Regions from separate parts of the Homo sapiens genome. Here region 1 is linked to region 2. Evidence: promoter capture Hi-C in 16 types of primary human blood cells and fetal thymus (Javierre and others, 2016). All regions are on one chromosome and are shown on one strand. Each heading gives the region's core, a stretch centred on a gene start or on the middle of the fragment in contact. The rest is flanking DNA. Distances are from core to core; before and after follow the strand shown.

Evidence for each region. Contacts are between HindIII fragments. The CHiCAGO score rates a contact against its expected background, and 5 or more counts as called.
Region 1: a fragment that was not itself captured here is called in contact with the fragment with the promoter of PCBP1-AS1 in region 2 in 1 of 17 cell types (naive CD8 T cells); the score reaches 5.1 in naive CD8 T cells.

Annotation. Positions count from the first base shown.
Region 1 is chr2:69,639,614-69,642,515 of GRCh38, reverse strand. The region is part of intron 2 of AAK1 (AP2 associated kinase 1); the gene reads left to right. Among named protein-coding and RNA genes, the nearest start is that of AAK1, 2.7 kb to the left of the region's middle. The HindIII fragment of the contact is 3,236 bases long and covers 1-2,902 here.
Region 2 is chr2:70,085,503-70,088,330 of GRCh38, reverse strand. PCBP1-AS1 (PCBP1 antisense RNA 1) reads left to right here and starts at 1,316. Exons shown (of 11, transcript NR_033872.1): 1 at 1,316-1,353; 2 at 2,707-2,784. PCBP1 (poly(rC) binding protein 1) reads right to left here and starts at 854. Exons shown (of 1, transcript NM_006196.4): 1 at 1-854. The coding sequence starts at 587. It also overlaps a transcript of ASPRV1 not described here. RefSeq lists enhancers at 1-432, 1,638-1,847, 1,888-1,977, 2,118-2,257 and silencers at 768-827, 1,278-1,427. The HindIII fragment of the contact is 2,991 bases long and covers 1-2,313 here.

The DNA of each region.
Region 1 (2,902 bases), core at 312-2,811, 450 kb after region 2:
TGAAGGCTGAAGGGTGGGGGGACTTTTAAGAAGAGAGGGGTTTCTCCTTCTCCTACCCAACTTTCCCACTTCCATGAGCAGGCATTGGAAGGAAGAGAGGATTTTCGGAGAACGTGAACGTGTTTTTCCAAGGGCCAAGGCTCTTGGTGGATTTCACTAGTAGATTTGTTTCCTGACCCAACTGTAATCAGGTCCCCAGGTTATAGCAAAGATAACAGAAATTACATAAAACAAATGTGGTTATTTTGAACTCAGTCTAGTAGGCCCCTCTTCCTTCTCGCTTTAGGTTTTGTTTTTTGTTTTTTTAATCAAAAGAAAAATTACTTGAGAGTGGCTCTGATTTTGTTTTTTCGCTATCAGAGAGGATGTTATTTAGATCTGCTGCATAAATTCCCTCTGTGTTTCATCTGTGTGTCTATACTCACGTAGATATACATCTTGATTCCCCCAGGCTTTCGGGAAATCTTTGCATGTCTCTTTTGGTAACCTTAACCTCGACCTTCATAATTATGCCAGACTCATACTTTTCACAGCCCTTCGCCTGCCTAGTGTGCTTTTATTTTTAATAAAAGCAGCAATTTCCTTGGCATGAAGCAATTCAGACTGATTGGATGGGGCCAACCTGCTGTAGGTTGTGTTATAGACCGAGAGGGGTTGGAAGAAGGGAGAGGTCTCTCTTACTGCAACATGGTGATGGTAGGGAACAGTTTTATTAGCAAGGGAAGAGAGAAAGCTAAGAGGCCTCTTTAAAAAGGGGCCTTTTGCAAGCTAAAGTTGAAGCAAGGGTCCTGACCTGGGCCTGGGAAATGCTTACCATGGTGGATGTTGCGGGCTGGTGGGTGGGTTTGGAAGAGGAAGAAGCTGTGTTTGGCTCTCAGCTTGTGTAAGCACTGGATTCAGCAGGGCCCAGTTTTCTGGGAATAGAGTTGAAGTCTGTACTTTAAAAACATGATTTTTAAAAAAGATCTCTGACAGTTAATGTCCATGTGAAATTATTGCTCTTCCAATCTCAGTACTGTTCTAGCTGCGCTTTATCTGGGGCCAGAGTCACTGTCCCCTTGGATCTTTCCCGTGGACTTTGGTGCAGGCTAGGAGATGCTTCTGTGCCCGCTGCCAGATCCGCACCCTTGAGTCTGATCTGTCTCTTTCATCCCTGTGCCAAAGCCCTTAACTGCAGTGGGGTGGAGAAACAGTGAAAAGGAGAGTGTGTCAGAGAGAAATCAGGAGAAACGAAGGGCCACAGAACACTTTCCTCCCCTCTGAATGGCCTCTGCTGACCTTATAGCCCACGAGCGTTTTGTTCAGCTAGGATGTTGTCTCATCACGGATGATGCTGCCCTAAGCGGTGCATGTTCTCCAAGTGTGAGAGAAGTGATAGGGAAAAGAAAAGGCAAAATTGGTCTTTGTTACCTAGGCTGCCTTCCTCTTCTCTGGGATTCATCTTTGAGAACTGCGCATCACGTATTGTGATATTTTTACACAGAATTTAGGACTTGTAGCTCTGCATTTATTCATTCAACAGTTTATGGAGTTGCCTGTGAAGTGCCAGGTGCTGTGCTAGGCTCTGGGGGTATACTGTTAAACTAGATGCTAGCTTTTACCAACTGCTTTAAGAGATGGAAAATAGCCAGTTATAGTGGATTGGTAAATGCCATCATAGAGATAAACTTAGGGTGCAGTGGCCCCCAGTTTTAGGGAGCCCAGGATTTCTGAAGGAAGTGACTGAAGAGTGAGTAGGAGTTAGTGTGGTGGCACCATGGGCAAAGACAGAGTAGCGAGAGAGAATGTCACGTAAAACTGGGTCTGGCTATGCGCCCTTTTTGTGTTCTTTGGCTTAAGTTGAGTTTGAATTTGTGGCTCTTAGAAGTATGTAGATATGTAGGAGCCAGTATACAAAGTATTTATGTAGCACCTACCAAGTCCAAAGACCCTATGAAGTTCTGAGATGGATGAGGGAGGTCTATAGTGTGATTGACATCTGCCTTTAAGGATCTGCCAATGAATTTGGGAAGATGAGGCATACATTCACACATACAGTAGCATGGTTACCAGCACTGTCTGTAGAGTCAGACAGATCTAGGTTCAAATTCTGGATCTGTTCTTTACTAGCTGTGGAACTGTAGGCAAGACATTCCAAACCACTCTTGAATCTCTGTTTCCCTGTGGCAGTGGTTCTCAAAGTGGGGCATACTTATCACCTGCGAGCTTGTTGGAAATGGAGATTCTCAGGCCTCACTCTGTAGGCTGTGGGTGTGGGGCTTAATAAGTTCCTGGAGAGATTCTGACGCAAGGTCAAGTTTGAGAACCACTGCTTAATGGGCTGGTCATGAAGATTAAATGAGGCAATATATATAATTAACATTTTCAGGTGTTCAATAAATGGTAGCCATTACTTACCAGCAACGTTATACATCATATGTATATATGTGGGGGGGGAGAGAGAGAGAGAGAGAGAGAGAGAGTGTGTGTGTGTGTGTGTGTGTGTGTGTGTGTGTGTGTGTTAAAGGGGAGTGGGAGCAATGTGAAAGCTAGTTGAGCTGCAGCAATCTGAAGCAATTCCTTTCCCCCATTGTTAGGGGACAGAGCCAGATGTTCTTTGCAGAGTCCTCACCAGCTCCTTAAAGGCTTAACAGACGTTTTGGGTAGCCATGCTCCTTCCCTGGACTCTCTTCTCTGTGAGTCCCCGAGTGCTGACTTATCTACAGTTCTAGCCAGAGTTGTTTAAGGACCACAGGAGTTGTACCCTGTGTGCCCAGAGCGGTGGCTAGGCAGTTTAGGGAGGAGTGGTGTGAGAGGCTTCAAAACACAGACCAGATTACCACCACATTCCGCTGATGATCTCTTTTTCTCTAGCGTGGGTATTGGTCTGTGCTTTTTCATAAGGAATTGCAAGAACCCCAAG
Region 2 (2,828 bases), core at 67-2,566:
CCCGCGCAGATGACTGGGGAGCTGGCCGGCATGGGCTGGTACGGAATGGTCATGACTCTCCCTTGCGGAGACTGGGAGAGCGTCTCCAGCATGACCAGGCAAATCTGCTTGACACACTCGGTGACAGACTGCGGCACGCCAGCGATGGTGATGGCCCGCTCGGTGGAGTTGGGCAGCATATCCCCCGCCACCTGGACCTGCGCCCCCGTACTCTCGCGGATCTCTTTGATCTTACACCCGCCTTTCCCAATCAGGGAGCCGCACTGGGTGGCCGGCACCACCAGCCTCAGGGTGACCGGGGGCCTGCTGGCCGCGGTACTGTTGGTCATGGAGCTGTTGATATCTTCCTCCAGCTTGTCGATGATCATAGCGAAAGCCTTAAAGATGGCATTGGTGGGGCCGGTCAGAGTGATGATTCTCTCCGGACAATTCCCCTCCGAGATGTTGATCCGCGCGCCACTCTCCTCGCGGATCCTCTTAACCGACTCCCCTTTCTTCCCAATGATGCTTCCTACTTCCTTTCCGTGCATAAGAAGCCGAATGGTGAGAGTCACATTTAGTCCACTTTCAGTCACACCGGCATCCATGGCGAGCGGCGGGCGGCGTTCGGGGGAGTTGGGCTCGTTACGTGGTCAAGTCTTTGGCGGCTGGCGGGGGGAGGGGAGGTGTAGGCCCAAAACTGCCGGCGCGAGGCGAGCGAGGGCCGCGGGAGCGAGCGGGAGCGGGCGGGAGGCCGCAGCGTAGTCGCAGGGGCGGGCGGCGGCGGCGGAGGGGGCGAGCGGGGCCGGGAGCGGCGGGCGGGCGGGTGGGCGAGGGCGCGGCGGTGGCGACTCCGGCGGCAGCCTCGGCGGTCTGGGCGGGGCGGGAAGCCCGCTTTCAACCCCGCGTACCCTCTGACCCCGGAAGTGCTTGCTGCGCAGGACCCCTTGAAAAAAAATGAGGACCCGTCTTTTTTAGGTCACAAGATTGCGCCAACCCTTACATGGTCCTTAAAAAAAAAACCTTCTGACACTGCAGTAGTGAAAATGAAGCGCACGATGGGCGGAAGCTGTGAGTCCGGCAAAGTTTTAAAATGATGACGTATTTTATTAACTCTAACGGCACTGGCGGGTGACTGAAAATACTAGTGCTGTGTATGCGGGATAGACATTATTTTCCTGCCCTACATGAGGGGCTCGTGCGCGGAACGACATGGGCAGCCCCGGCGGAAACTGCAGGCACAAGCCGGGACGCCGCGGGTTTAAAACATGCGCGTGAGGTGACCAGAGCGCGTGCGCGAGGGTGTGGGGGGATGGGAGGGGCAGCAGCCCTCTTCCGGGGGGGAGGGGCGGCGAGGCGAGGCCTGCGGAGCGGGTGCGCGCGGGCGGGCACGTGGGGCCCTTTCGTCCCCGGCGTCCGGGCGCCCTGCATGGATCCCCCACCCCAGCTCCTGCTCCCCGGCGGCGGCCGGTGGGCAGAAAGACCGAAACCCACTCACGGCCGCCTGCCGAATCGCGGCTCTGCTGTTTGTGGGGCGTGCTAGAAACGTGGTCCTAAAAAGAATGGCGTCCATTTACATAATGCTTTGTTTGCGTTTCGCAAGTTTCTTTCGGTTAAAGCCACAGAAACCCCACCTCCTGCCCTTGTGTCGTTTCCACCGCGGCACCCTTTTCCGACATTAGAAACAATAGTGTACGCCTGTGGAGGCCTCGTTTGTTCAGGGGCTGCCGGCCAGGGCTTCAGGACGTTTCTGCGGCTTTCCCCGCGCGGCCTGGGCTCCCGCGGCTGCTTTTCGGGCCCATGGGCGCAGCCACTGCGCCAGGCTCAAGGGGGGCGGCCCCGTCAGGGCCCGCCATCTTGGAAGGCCTTTTTTGCCGGTTCTTCCCGCTGAGGAAGTGTCGCTCAAGACGCTGGCCTATGAGTTGTGATTTCTGCCTTTTCCCCTTCCTCCTTGGGCTAAGCCAGACCAGAAAGGGCCCCGTGCGCAACGTGCTTCACAATCTCTCAGGGAAAGCGGCTAACGTGGCGCTACTCCGCCTCCCCTGTTCCTTACCCTTGGGGCGGCCGCCATGTTTCCTGAACACAAAATGGCGACACGTGGTTAGCATTCGTCGCCAACGAGAAATTGGGGTCGGCCCGAAAGCTCTAGAATGCACCCCTCTTCCTCCCCGGGGCCTTCCACCTCCGCGAGTTTTATGACTTAAAAAAGCCCACAGGCTGGTCTGAAGGTCGGAGGCCTAATTTTAACGCGTTTTCCTCCCTTTAATTTGAAACGGGAACGCGAATGACTGTAAAATGTGGGCACAATATTTAATCTCTCGCCTTTTTAAAGCTTAATAGTGGATAATAGGGGGGCAGTATCAAGGGATAATTTGGGTCCCCACAGTACCAAAGCATTTAGAAACCTCTGTTTAATTTAAGGAATGAGATAAGTTACTGCTTTTCTAGACTTCCTAGCATGGGCTGTTGTGCTGGAGAGAACGAGAGCTACGAAGAGACTACAGTGCCTCTGACTTTTTCATAGGACAGTTGGCCGGTGAATCTTATTAATAGTTTACCACAATTAAGTGTTCATTTTTAGTCTAGAAGGGACAGGCGTTTATTGTGCATTGGCCAGTGCCAGCACATCCGATGCAAGGCAGTTCACCGTATTCTATCTTTAATTTTTACCATGGTCCTCTGAGGTAGGTGTTCTTATCTCTCTCTCTCTCTCTCTCTTTTAAACAGAGGAAGACAAACATAAAGATGAAGTGCTTAATTCAAGGTCACACAATGTCGGGGATGGACCTCCAGATTTCCTTACTGGTGAGCACATTTTCCAGGTTTTTCTGTAAATCAGGGTTTTGGAA